3 separate regions of the Homo sapiens genome follow, and regions 1 and 2 are each linked to region 3. Evidence: promoter capture Hi-C in 16 types of primary human blood cells and fetal thymus (Javierre and others, 2016). All regions are on one chromosome and are shown on one strand. The core of a region is centred on a gene start or on the middle of the fragment in contact, and the rest is flanking DNA. Distances in the headings are between cores, read along the strand shown.

Region 1 (4,943 bases), core at 405-2,904, 780 kb after region 3:
ATTTTATTAAGCACACGTGCATGAGGACGGGGGCATTCCAACCAAGGCAACCTTAGAGGACACAGATTGGCTGGCCTTCTCATCTACCGGTGCATTCTGGAACTTAAGTTTTATGGATGATTCCAAATTACAGCATTGGTAGAAACCATCATGGAACATGGGGCCAGACATAACATTACGATATTAAATTTGTCTCTTTTCAGAAATCGCACAAGTTCTTGAGATTTCTCATGGACTAACAGGTACGATTAACAGACAGTCTTCTGCAGCAGTGCTTTCATTCTTGAGACAGCACTGGCAGTGAGGAACTGTGTTATTACAGTTTTACATTCGTGGAAAAGAAGCAGGGGGCAGTTAATGATCGCAGGGCTGGTGAGGAACAGAACAGGGGGCTGAGCACAAAGCAGTTCAAGCTTCTCTCCACAAATCTCTAGCATCTCTATAGAAGGCGCACATTGTTACACAGAAGTTTAGTAAACAGACTTTCACTGCTAGGAAATGTCTAAATAAAGCACAGGAGGACTGCATCTGCCGCTGTGGAAGGCTGGCCCGGCTGAGTGCCGCATTCCTGCACAGAGGGGACTGACCATCTCCCTTCTGCATCCCAGCTTCCCTGGGAAGTAGTGCCTGACCTTGCTCCTGGCTGCATGAGCCCACTCATTTCTAAAATCCAGCAGGACGTCAGGGGAGCTGAGCAAGGAGTCGTGTGCATTAAGGAACCTCACACATACCTCGCCTGATAGTCGCCGAGCAGCTTCTGAGACTGCCAGGCTACATTCAGCTCCTTGTCATTTTCCTCGTCTTTAAAGGATTGTGCCGAAGATGGAAACAACTTGGGCGGTGGTGGTGGAGGGGGGTTCTCACTCTGCATCATTGTTTGTGCTTCACCATTTTGTCAGAAAAGTTGCACTTTTTTTTCTTTAAAAAATGATAGCAAGAGCTTTGCTGCATCCTAAAGTGTGACTGTGTCATTAAGACTGGGTTAATATTTCTTTCTGCAGGAAAACATCTCTCATCTTTAGTGGAGACAATGAAAGGACAAAGTGAATGTAAAGAAATGTACTTTGAAGGTGGCTTTTTTTTCTTTTGAGATGAGAGTCTTGCTGTGTCACCCAGGCTGGAGTGCAGTGGCTCAATCTTGGCTCACTGCAACCTCTGGTGAGCTTGAACCCAGGATCAAGCGATTCTCCTGCCTCAGCCTCCCGAGTAGCTGGGATTACAGGCACATGCCACCAAGCCCGGCTAATTTTTGTATTTTAGCAGATATGGGGTTTCACCACGTTGGCCAGGCTGGTCTCAAACTTCTGACCTCAAGTGATCCACCTGCCTTGGCTTCCCAAAGGGCTGGGATTACAGATGTGATTACACCGGGCGCGGTGGCTGGGATTACAGCCACCGCGCCCGGCTGGAGGTGGCTTTTCAAAGAATGCTGATATCAGGCAAAGGAAGCCAACTTCAAAATTCCTTTATTGCTTCCAGGTGCTTATGGGTGGCCTGAAAGAATTCAAAAAAGCTCCACAGAATATTTTGCTTCCTTCTGAAGACATTTATGTTTATTAAATGTCAGGTCCTATATTAACCACTGGGTCCCTTTAACAAATGGTAGCTACTTTATTTTTGTTTTTATTAAGCAAGTCAGGTTATTTACTTCTCAGGAATAAGTTAAGCACCTGGCTGGTAGAGGCCAGCCATGCAAGCCAATATTATTCTGCCTCCACCAAGTCCCCAAGCACCCCAGTCCTGGGTGCCACCCCTTCATTCATCACCCCCATCCCAATCCCCCTACTGTTCTGAGCAGAGGCAGATGAGGCCACCTTTACCTCTCAGCTGCTGGAAACAGGAGGCACTGCTGTCTGGCTCCAGGGGGTGCCTCAGGACCCCGTTGCTGGGCTTGGGTCTCTCGTATTCTCTTTCGGAGAGCATGGCCTGCTCGCTTTCCATGGCGGGCTCTGAGTGCGGGGGCAGGGACTGTGGAAACCCAAACATCAAGAGGGAAGAGAAGAAGAGTAAGGCACCGCAGAGCAGAAAGCCACCCCACCAGGCTCCGATCCAGCGGGGGTCGTCCGGAGTGATGTCCAGGTTACCTGTAAATGGAAAGAGCACAGCTTAGTGGAGAAAAGAAGGCTGGACCACTGGGGATTTTGCTGAGAATCTGAATCCGCTGAACAGAGAGGGCAAGGGCTCTAGAAATGACTTGCGGTCGGGAACACTGGCTGCCAGGCTACGAAGCCTATTGTTCCACACCAGCGGTTCTGTTTCTCTCAAAGCCGGAGGCTGATCACATTCCCCCCTTAATTTTCTTGTCTACCCTGTGTTTATATCGGTCTAAACAAAAACAGTGAGAAGCCAGACGTTCTCTGAATTTAGGCTAAAACTGGCTTGGCAGCACTGCTAAGGTGTACTGAAAGAAGCACAAGGAAATGTTTATTGTTCAGAGGTAGATTTTCACCGGGTATATTCACTCTTGGCTTCCAAAAAGCAGCTCACACGAGATCCCACTCAATGCCCCACTCACTGCCTCAATTTAGGTTCACAGCTCATAAGGGGAGGCGCACAATAGGGTTTTAGAGCAGGGCCTCTGAAGCCAGGCTGCCTGGGTTGAAGTCCTACCCCTTTGTCTCTGTGTGACCCTAGGCCAGTGGTTTGAACTCTCTATGCCTCAGTTTACTGATCTGTATAACATCTAGGATGATGGCAGTACTTAGTGGGAAGATCAAATGACCACACCAGACATAAAATGCTCAGAAGAGTGCCTGGCGCATGCTTGGGCACCCAGATGATGGTAGCCTGTTATTTATGGTGAGGGGCCTTTGTTTCCATGCATTAATTAATTAATTAATGCCAACTTTGTTGGTGGCCTGTGGTTTGGCACCAGCTCTCTAATACAAAGCTTTGCAGTCAACTCATGTGCTTAAAGGGGCTATGCATATGGTTTGGTGGCACTGTACCACTATTTCTTTTATTGTGCCAGCTAAGTCACAAGAACATAAACTTCAGCTTACCCTTTGGTACAGTTTTTTTCTTTCTCTCTCTTTACACCTGCCTTGTACAGCACAGCTCCCAGGTGAGCTGCTTAGAAATGTCTCTTTGATAATAAACCATGCCCCTGGAACATGGAAGGAGAACTGGGGAGATCTGGGCAATGGTGTATGAGGTAAGACCAACAGGGCTGCAGGCCTGGACCAGATGGATGGACAGCTCTGGGAAGAGTAATGACCGCACACACCAGATGAACACTTCAGCACTCATAAAATGTTCTCCCTGAAGACTCCTCAGCTAGCATTAATGATAAGGCCAGCCATCGTTTATTGAGGGCTTCCTCTGCACCAGGCATTATGCAGAGCACATTCTTAACTGTTCCAGCCAACCTTCCCCATAACTCTACAAGGCAGGACTTTTATTATCTGTTTTCTATAGATGGAGTAACTGAGGCTTAGAAAGGTTAGGTTCGTTGCCCAGGTTCATGGGGCTGAAGAACGGAACACAGGTATACACATGCCAAGGTCCACGCTCTCACCTTTCTGTTCCACTGCCCCTCTTCAATGTCTGTTTTTGGGCTCTCTGTAGGGCCCGAGGTGAATGATCAATTCCTGCTCTTTGTGCCATGAGCCTAAGGCCACCAGCTCTTCCAGTAGGTAGCAAGTGGCCTTTGGAACACTGGTAGTCACTGTCCTGGAGATGCTGACATACACCCAGCGCAACAATAGCACTACAATGGACCAGATGTTTCTGCATAGCTACATGCTGGAGAGGGGACAGTGTAAGCCTGGAGTACTTGGGGGCCGAATCCCAGCTCTGCCACTTACTAGCATGTGACACTGGGCAGATTACTTACCCTCCTTGAGTCTTAGCTGCATCATTTGCAAAATAAAGACAGCTTCAACCTAGAGTGGTTGCAAGGATGACAGGCAATGAGCAAGAATCACCTGATGCACAGTAGGCTCTTTGTATAGAGAGAGATCTTGTTATTCTCACTTTTATGTACATATATGTATATAAATGAGAATCTCAAAATAGGGATCTTTTTAAAAAAGGGTACAGCATGGGAAAACACAAGGTGATCTTGAAAGCATCTTTATGCAAATGAGGGAAGACACAAGGAAGTGAAATTGCCTCTGGTAGCTGAACAGGAATATTTTCACTAGTCACTTACTGTGTTTCTTCACCTGCTGCCAAGCAATGAATGAAAACAAAAGACAGCAAAAGGGAGCTGAAGTATTTCCCTCCATTGTCTCCAGGCTCCATAAAGGGGGAATTGAAAAGCTGGCAGATGTGAGCGGGTAAAGAGAGAGAAATCCTAGCAGTTGTTTGGGGGAACAAAATTAGAAAAGTCATATTTTAGTTAGGAAGTTAGTGACTCTGTTGTTCTAAGTGTGAGAAAACAACCCAGGGAGAGGGATGGCGATGGGGGAGGTGGTGGTTTGTGTGAACGTGTCAACTTGCTTCCTGTAGGTATGTGTATGTCTGGGGAAAGCTGACGCTGGCTCACAGTTTGAAAGATGGGGAAGGGCACGTCACCTGTGTCAGAACCAAAGCCCGCCTGCCACCCGGGCAAGTACAGGAGACGGGGCCTGCGTGAAGGTGGTGGACAGCAGGATTCTGTAGATCCAAGACACTCATCACTGACTATTTTGGGAAGTATTGATTTTTTTCTCCATTTCAATTATCCGGAGCACTGTGGCAGAGAGAAATAACATGCTGAGAGAAACTGCTCAGCTGTGGAGTGTGCTGCCCTGAGGGCGGGGGAGGCTTTGGTGAGTTTGATCTGGGGAAGACGGCTACTGGTTGGACCCGTCTGAGAAATGTCTTGCCTCTGTCCATCTCTATAACAAATACTAATTTTTTTTTTTCTTTTGAGGTGGATCTCGCTCTGTCGGCCAGGCTGGAGTGCAGTGGTGTGATCTTGGCTTACTGCAACCTCCACCTCCTGGGTTCAAGCGATT
Region 2 (4,742 bases), core at 1,658-4,157, 940 kb after region 3:
GGTAACACGATCAGATTCACAGGCTGCCCAGGGCTGATCTCACTGGTGAGAGTGTAGGTTAAAAATCAAAGACGTGCAGCCTGGCTCCCTGCCACTGACCAGCTGGGTGACACCAGCTGAGTGGCTCAACCTCTCCGCAGAGAAGACGCTGCCCTAATTATCTCTAAGTCTTCTCAGCACTTGCATTACAAGAGGCCTGCTCTCAGCGTCCACAGAACCAAGGTGACCTGGGGACACACTCCCTGAAGTAAGAAGTCCATACTGAATCCATGCCCACAAACTAGTGCAGGATCATGCCTGATGCTTTTACTTCGCTATCACCAAGTGATATTTATATGTTCAAAGAAAATGACAGATAGTGCTTAATCAAAATAAGAGGGAAAAGGGATGAGTGTTTGAGAAAGTGAAAAGCTCTAGGCATTATCTGGGATTTTTCTCATTGTCTAAATTCTCTTCCCTCCCTCTCCATCACAATCCATCAGGAACTCCTCTCAATTCTGCCTTGAAAATCTCTCCAACCTTCTCTGCCTCCTTGGTAGCCCAGGGTGACATGTTATCTTCAGTCGCCTCCAAATCAGTCACCCAGACCCATTAGCACAGTAGCCAGTCACCATCGGATCACATTGTTCCTACCTAAACCCTGCAAGTGGATTCCCATTACACTCAGAAAAGCACTCTGAAACTTTCCTGCAGCCAGCCAGGCCCTGTGGGGCCAGCTGTGGCCACCTCTCCAACTCTCCATCTCCCTCTGCCCCTGGGGTGTTATTTTGGCATAGTAACTTTCTCTCCCTTTCCGCCACAGGACCTTTGCATATGCTGTCCTTGCTGCCTTCGGTGTTTCCCCTTCACAGCACTCATTACAACTTGCCGCTATTGTGTCTGTTTACGTATTCACTTATTCATTCACTTTTGGCTGTCTTCCCTATTAGAATGTAAACGAGGCCAGGGTCCTTATCTCCTTTGTTCATCACATTCCCAGTACAGAATCCAGTGCCAGCCACGTAATTTTTTTTTTTTTTTTGAGATGGAGTCTCACTCTGTCTCCCAGGTTGAAGTGCAATGGTATAATCTAGGTTCACTGCAACCTCAGCCTCCCAGGTTCAAGTGATTCTCCTGCCTCAGCCTCCCAAGTAGCTGAGATTACAGGCACACGCCACCATGCCCAGCTAATTTTTGTATTTTTAGTAGAGACAGGGTTTCACCATGTTGGTCAGGGTGTCTCGAACTCCTGACCTCGTGATCGCCTGCCTCGGCCTCCCAAAGTGCTGGGATTACAGGCATGAGCCACCATGCCCAACCAAAAATATTTAATAAATATCTGTTGGGTGAATAAAGGGAATATACAGTTCATAGCTCAGAACAAAAACTGTTCAAAGACAATTCAATTAGGGCCTGAGTCCTCATTCTAAGTTAAAGAGAATATTGGAGAAAAGTTGAAATTTGGGCGTGGCAGAGGAATCTTAACATGTACTACAGAAAGCTTAAGGGAAGTGCAAGGTTTCTGTTGCACCCAAAAAAAGAGGGGGAGAGAAAGAGAGAGAGAGGGAGCCTGCTCGTGCCTTTCCCCCTCTGGATGGCCATCATCAGTTCTGCAGGGAAGAAAAGCCCCCTCGATTTCTCCACATTCCTTCGTGAAAGACTCAGATGTTCAGAACTCAAAGCAGGCTCCTCTTTGAAAAGCATCTCGGGGGAGAGTGGGAAGGATTACTCTGACTCCTCCATATCAGAGATGCAAACCCTCCAGGACTTGCATTGTCATAATATCCGTGGCTGTCTGCTTGTCCATGGCTGAGCGGGGTGACAGAGTTCCAAAGGGAGCTGGCAGGACTTGTGACGGATCACTTGCTAAGTAAGCACAGAAGCCAAAGCCACTCTGAGCCCCACGCTGCAGCTGCTTACTATTCTGTGAAGCTGGTACTGAGAAGAGGGTTCACCCAATGCTTTGTCTCACTTTGGTGGATAGGTCTGGGAGCATCCTTCCAATACTGCTTTTCTCCCCTTGGCCATGTCTGTCTTGCCTCGAAGCCCAGAAATCAGGTACTGAATCTGTAAGGGGCTCACATTCCAAAGGGGGAGCCCTGGAGACCTAAGGCAGCTTACATCTTAGGAGGGACCTTGCACAGGGATATGGTAATCATACAAATAATGGTGAACACTTACGTGAGGGCTTCCTATGTGCCAGTGGCTGTTTTCAGTCCTTTGTAATAGATCAACATACATCAGCAACCCTAGGGAGGCAGTTTATAGATGAAGGAAACTGAGGTACAGTGAGGTTGTGCAATGTGCCCAAGGTCATCCTGCTAGTAATTATATCAGACAAGATGTGCAGGTAGCAAATGGCACGCTCAAAAGTTTCCAATGAAGAGCAGCTAATGGAGGTCTATTGACAGAAGTGAAGGCAGAGCCAAGGGACCCACCGAGGGATGCTAAGGCACCCAAGACAAGCAACATGGGAGGCAGTCACCAGAGGGTAGCCCTGAAGAGGCACAAAGAGGGAACCAGGTCATTGGAATCCAGCAAGAGCTGGCCTCTGGGGAGAGGAAGCCAGCGATGCCCAAATCATGACCTAGCACAGATGGAGGGAATACATTCCCAGGCCATTCTGTGTCCTCTGGGGCTCTGGCTTCTTCCTGGAGCCTCCTAGTCACCTCTATTTTATCAACAATGAGACATGAAAATTATGCACTGGGTATGAAAAACAGTATGGCGGTTCCTCGAAAAATTAAACATGGAATTACCATATAATCCAGCATTTCCATTTCTGGGTGTAAGCAAGAGAATTAAAAGCAGGAACTCAAAAGACATTTTGCACACCTATGGTTCATAGCAGCATTAATTCACAGCAGCCATAGGTGCAAGCAATCCTAGTGTCCATAGCAGATGAATGGATAAACAAAATATGGTTTACACCTACAATGAAATATGATTCTGCCTTAAAAAGGAAGGAAATTCTGACACAGGCTACAACTTGGATGAACCTTGAGGACATGATACTAAGTGAAGTAAACCAGTCACAAAAGGACAGATACTGTAGGGTTCCACTTCCAGGAGGTAACTAGGATAGCAAGACTCACAGAGACAGAAGGAAGCACACTGGTGGTTGCCAAGGGCTGAGGGGAGGGGGAATGGGGAGTTGTTTAATGAGTGCAGTTTCGGTTTTGCAACACGAAACATTCTGGAGATTGCACAACACTGGGAGTGTCCTTAACACTACTAGGCTGCACACTTACAAATGGGTAAGATGCTACGTTTTATGCTATGTGTCTTTTACCATCAATTTCTATAAAATGGAAATGAGACTAGACCTGAGGTTTTCAGTGTGCTCTGTGGAGACCTGAATTAATTACAAGGACAGAAGGTCAAGGGAGATGCTTTTAGGAGAGAAAGGGAGGCAGAACGAGGTCAAACGGCTGGGCCCTGGGCCCCACGCCCACTCGGGCAGAGCAGTTCTGCTCTGTCTGATCAATAGGGGAACTCCCCTTAAGATTTCCAGCAAAGGGCTGGGTGTGGTGGCTCATGCCTGTAATTCCAGCTCCTTGGGAGGAGTGATCAGTGACCTGATCACTTTAGGTCAGGAATTTGAGACCAGGCTGGCCAACATGGAGAAACCCCATCTCTTTTCAAAAATTAGCCGGGCGTGGTGGTGCACGCCTGTAATTCCAGCTTCTTGGGAATTACCTTCACCCAGGAGGTGGAGGTTGCAGTGAGCTGAGATTGGGCCACTGCAATCCAGCCTGGTCGACAGAGCAAGACTCGGTCTCGAAACAAACAAACAAACAAACAAACATACATTTCCAGCAGAGTTCTGTTGCAAAACAAAGTTTGAAAACCAGTGAGCCTGGGCATCGTCAATCTAAGAGGGATGGCCACTGACACACAACTCCAGGCCACATCCAACTACGGTCTCTACATGGTGCCCCCTGCAGTTGTGCCATAGTAGCACTGCTAAATGGCATGTTTTACCTGCACAGCTATAGGAATATACATAAAACAAAATCTCAACGATGGACAGGTGTGTGTTCTCATATCACCACTGTGTAACAATATCTAATCAAGTCCTGGAGGCTCTGAAATGCCTGCTATAGATCAGACATTGTGGGGTTCAGCAGTTGCTACATTTTTGGATTTCACAGAAGAGTCAAATATAAAATATTGAGGGGTAAATGACAGAGGTGCCACCTTTTTATTTCTACAAGTAAAATTTTAATAAGAAAAGCTGCCGTGATCCAAAATTATGATTTCCTAAAATTAGGTACATTTAAACAGCAAAACAGTAGGTGGTGGCATTGTCTAGAATAAAGAACAAGACTCTAAATTGAATAAATTAAGCTTATGACAAACTCTCCACCTTGTACTGTTCTCTCATTTTTGTCGTGGATGGGTAAGACCTAGCTCAAAGGCAGGCAGTCCTCAGCCAGTACGCTGGTGCAAGCCCCCATTTGTAGCCTGAGAGCTGCCCTCCTAAGACCAGCCCCCAGCCCTCACTCTCAGAACTGCAGATGCCCATAAGCCAGTGGCATTTATGCAGCTCCTACAGTATGCAAAGCACTGCATTGGGCAGAGGAGAGAGGGAAGCCTGAGCGCTCTCAGATGAAGTTGCACACAGACAAGCTCCATGAAGGTTAATGAATAGAAGATATTTTAAACATAAAAATTAAAAAGGAGGAAAAATAATTTTTTTAAAGACAAAGAGAAACAAACATCCCGAGTAAGAAAAAGTACAAAACCCATGGGAGATTAGA
Region 3 (4,480 bases), core at 1,981-4,480:
AACTAAAATCTATGCTCAAAACCTGATTTTTTAAATGTTCTTCCCTAAAATCTATCAGTATGAATAGCAAACTAGTTCAAATTCTCCAATAAGCTTATTTCTTTAAATACTTAAAAGATTAAAATTGTTTGCACAATATACAGAGTTAAACAGAAAAAAAAAGCTATCTTTGGTTCATGGTTTTCCTCAAAATCTAATCAGTCTTCTCTTGTTCCCAAAATTAAACAAAGGCTTAAAGGACCTTCAGTATTTTAAACTATTCAAAGGGTACATTAAGTTACAATGGCTATGCGTATATACTTTTAATCTTTCCTGCAGTGAAAAGGCTTAAAGGCTTTTGTCAAATTATTTGATAGTTTACTCATATTCATAATCACAACTTTTAAAAATGATACCCATTCATTAATTGAAATGTAAATTATTAAAGATAAAACAAAAGCCTAATAAGCTAATTTTTGTCAAAACAATAAAAATTAACCCACTCTTACCTCAAATAAAAGAACTCATTATTTGTTCAGAACCAACAGCAACCAAATTAATTTTAATCTCTTAAGTCACCTTTAAAAAAAAGAAGAAAGATGATATTAATGTTTTGATTTTCAAGCATTTCTTGGCCAACGATTCAGTGTGATGAAACAAGAAAATATTCCACAGACAAAAATCTATGGGCAAACTGAAGAGATGGCTCATGGACACATAACCTGTATACATTTATGGTTGCAGTTATTTCTTATCTTAGTATCTATCAGTCTTTGTTTTCCTCATCTTTTGGCTGTATTGACCAATGCTAAAGATTAACGCATTGAATTAAACAGAAATACAGAAAATTCAAATTTTTGGACTGATTTAAGATTATGAACCTTTTTTTTTTTACTTTCCCTCTTTTTATGACAGGCAATAAACAAAGAAAAAGTTTACCATTCTTCAAGACAAATCATCTTAACATCTCCCTTACCATCCGGAAGTATGTTTTACAATCATGAGCAATTAAAAATTAGCTCCTCCAAGAGAAATTAGTGAAGTTAAAATGGCCACTGGTTACTTTAAATTTTAAACCACAAGTTACTTGATCTCACCAAGTGGGATACTAGCTTTGTCTCTAAAGCTACTCTAAAACTTACAGTATCTAGACCTTTACACTCAATTTCAAATCAGGGTCTTCAACATTTTCATTTCAGTCTTTCTCCTCCCCCATTTATCATGTAAAAAGATCTTTCAGGTTAAACTGCTAACAATTATTTTGCATTTCACAATTCAAAGAGGATTCTAAAGAACTAGATTCAGAATATTCATTTAAAACCACTTTCAGTGTTCAAAAATTTCAGAAACATTGATTTGAAAAACCAAAATTGGTACTTAAGACAGATTCTGTAAAATCAAGATATGCGCAACTGATGTAACATGTACCACTATAGGAAGGCTACTCAAAAAATAAAACAATTTTACTGGAAAAATGCCCTTAGAAATATGGTCGAATAAACCAGTATCTGATTTCAGATGTACTATGTAAGTCTGCCCAACACTATTTTTACGTAGTTCTGCACCTTTACAACACAAGAGCTCCGCAGAATGAAGACAAATATATTCTAAAATACACAAAGGTTTGTGCGCTTCTGGTTTGTTCTTCAAACCACTACACTTAAAAATTACCCTTCCAACATTTTTCTAAGATTAGAGACTATACAGAGAACTCTACTAAATTTTATGAAACCTGTACTTTTAAAATACTGTTCCGTTTTAAGCATATCTAGATTTTTATACATGCAACAAATGCAACAAATATGGCTCCTCTTCATCGCCCATTACCGAGAGCAGTCCTACTTTATTCATATTTACATTACGAGAAAGTAACTTCAGGAAGAGATTTGGTGTCAGAATGTTCTTTTGTGAAAGTTTTTCGATCATGGCTTGTGATAATATAAATTCTTAAAAATAATTAAATTATGAACTTTTAAAGACTAGGAATTGACCCAAGTACGTTCTAACATTCAGGTGTGAGAAGTTGCAGATAACGGCTCCTTGAGACCTTTTTAAAAAGTACCAAACAGTGTATTTAATCATATTTAAATATCAGGAGATCAAATGATCTTGGCGTCATTACTCGGTAAAATAAACTACATTAACCAAACGTCATCAGCTAGCTAGCACCGTAATTATCAAATCTATTTCCATTAAACAGCCTTGACGACACAGTAAACTTGTCTTCGTAATTCTGAAATACCAGAAGCACTCCTCCAACTTGCATTTTTCAAAGACAACCTTAACGTCATAAAGGTTTAATAAGCAGCAAGTACCTTCGCATGTATCACTGCAGCCGTTTCAAAATCGGCTTTGAAAGAGTTAAAAGCCAACACCCAATAGGAGGGAAAAAAACAAGTTTTATTTTTGTTGAAACGTAGTCAGGGTTCCATTGTTCTTTTAAATTCGATCATGAAGATGAGTTCCCACCTCACCGGAAAGAGGTTAAAAAGCTCCTCCGTTGGAGAACCTGAAAGGGATTTTTTTACCCTAAATATCAAAATAACTCACCAGGACAGAAAGGGGCTCTCCACGCCCGATCCCCTTCGGGCTCTCGCCGGCATTCACCCGCCGCCCCTTTCCCGGCGGATCCAGTCCCGGCGACGAGGCTGCCCCCCGCCCACCTGCCGCCCGCGGGCTCTGCAGCGGGGCCCCGCGTGCCCCCTACCCCAGGACCCTACGACTCGGGCCCAGGGCACCGAGGCGCATCCCGCCGGCGAGAGCCGGCCCCCGACCACGGAGGGGCAGTGCGAGAAGAGCCGAGCGGCGAGGCCCGGCCCGCCGCCCCCTCCTGCTCGCGCGCTCAAGGACATTTTGCTTTTCCTCCCAAGGACAAAGGACAATAAAAGGAGCTAGGGAGCCACTCACCGGGTCCGAGCGCGGCCACCGGCACCTCCTGGTCGCCCAAACCCGAGTCCCGGGCCGGACCGCCCGCCCGAGCCTCCCGCCCGCGCCGGGTCCAGCCGCCGGGGCCCGGGGGAGCCTCCGAGGCGGCAACCGCAGCGGCGCTTTCGGCGTCGTGGGCCCGGCCGCCCTGGGCGCCTCTGCCGCGGGCTGTGACGCCGACGCGCGCGGCCCGCCTCGCCTCAGCCGCGGCAGCCCCACTCCCGCGGGCCTGCTGGCCGTCCGGGCGTAGCTCCCCGCCGGCCGGCGGGCCTCGCGGCCGCGGCGGAACGCCTGACAGCTCGGGGTGCTGCTGCCTCTCCGGCCATCTTGTGCCGTGTGTGTGGTGTCTCTCTCCCGTCTCCTCTCTAGGCTTTACTCCCTCCTCCTCCTCCCCCCGCCCCACACACCACACAACATGGCCTCTTCGCTGCGGCGGCAGCGGCTGCGGCGGCGGCAGGAGCTCCGCCGCGCTCCAGCCCGCTCCCCTCCCCCACCATCCCCGCCTCCCGCCCGCAGGCCCGGGGGCCAACGCGCACGCGCGCCGCCGCCCGCCCGCCGCGGCCATTGGCTCCACGAGCTTCCTGCATCCCCTATCCGGGAGCGGCCTCACGCACGTTAGCTGGCGTCTTCCTCCCTCCCAACAACAACTTCTTCCATTCTATTGGTTAATTTCAACACCACCCCTTCCGCCTCCTTCGTGCGGATAGGCTGGCCTTAGTGCCATTCACTGTCCGTAGGCGTTTCTGGTTTTCTTGAGAAGCCCCGGGCCACGATTGGCTGGTGATGGAACCTTTGGGGTTGGAGCTGAGCTGTTGCTTTTTTCCCCGCAGTGCGGACCCCTCCAGGCTAGCTGGAGGGTTCCTGGTATGGTCTAGGCCAGGCTAGAATGGTTAGTGCAGGGTCGCACAAATAGTGGATTCGCGTCTAGAAAAAGCTCTGGCTTCGGTGTTTCTAGGTTCAGATTTTGTCTTTAAAAAAAGGGAAAGAAAAAAATGACTGACAGGATGATGAGCAAACAAGATACAGGCCCACAGCCCTTGGGCAAGCAGCCATATCCTCAAAATATTTGTTCTAAGCACCCAGGCCTTCCATGAAGGTCACACAGTCAGGACCAATGGTTTTACCATCAGCACATTCCCTAGCCCCAGTATCCGAGTTGAGATGCGATTTATTTGTGGATTTGTAGACTGCCTGTTGCGCATTTACCTGAGAGCCTAAAAGAATGTCTAGTGTCTTGTGAGCTGTCGTCATGGAAATCAAAAAAAACAATTAAAAAGAATGTCCAGTGTCCTGAGGCCTTAGCGAATCAATCTCAATACCGGTTGACTGGATTCCACCCTGTAGGACAATGTTTGTTAGAGTAGCAGTTTGAACCTGAAAAATCATAGTCTACCTTTTCAACCTCCTTCCAGAGAACCAGGCAAAACAAGTTTCATTTGCTTTCGGCAAATCTCACTTTTTTTTCGTTACTTCTTCCTACTTTAACGTGGAAACAACTCTAAGAAGACCATAGGAAAAAAATGAAAACCTAAACTTTCCTGAAATGGATGGGGAAAAAAAAAAGAGGTAGCTCTCT

The links. The method cuts DNA at HindIII sites, captures the fragments that hold promoters and counts their contacts. A CHiCAGO score of 5 or more calls a contact.
Region 1: a contact is called between a fragment that was not itself captured here and the fragment with the promoter of CHASERR in region 3, in 1 of 17 cell types (fetal thymus). The highest score is 8.1, in fetal thymus.
Region 2: a fragment that was not itself captured here is called in contact with the fragment with the promoter of CHASERR in region 3 in 1 of 17 cell types (M0 macrophages); the score reaches 5.7 in M0 macrophages.

The regions. Positions count from the first base shown.
Region 1 is chr15:92,101,420-92,106,362 of GRCh38, reverse strand. SLCO3A1 (solute carrier organic anion transporter family member 3A1) reads right to left here. Exons shown (of 10, transcript NM_013272.4): 4 at 1,821-2,084. Among named protein-coding and RNA genes, the nearest start is that of SLCO3A1, 250 kb to the right of the region's middle. The HindIII fragment of the contact is 2,477 bases long and covers 416-2,892 here.
Region 2 is chr15:91,941,621-91,946,362 of GRCh38, reverse strand. The region is part of intron 2 of SLCO3A1 (solute carrier organic anion transporter family member 3A1); the gene reads right to left. Among named protein-coding and RNA genes, the nearest start is that of SLCO3A1, 90 kb to the right of the region's middle. The HindIII fragment of the contact is 2,849 bases long and covers 1,483-4,331 here.
Region 3 is chr15:92,881,593-92,886,072 of GRCh38, reverse strand. It overlaps CHASERR (CHD2 adjacent suppressive regulatory RNA), which reads right to left and starts at 3,230. Exons shown (of 6, transcript NR_037601.1): 1 at 2,887-3,230; 2 at 2,295-2,488; 3 at 489-558. RefSeq lists silencers at 2,504-2,753, 3,374-3,503 and enhancers at 2,747-3,388, 3,814-3,903. The HindIII fragment of the contact is 7,161 bases long and covers 96-4,480 here.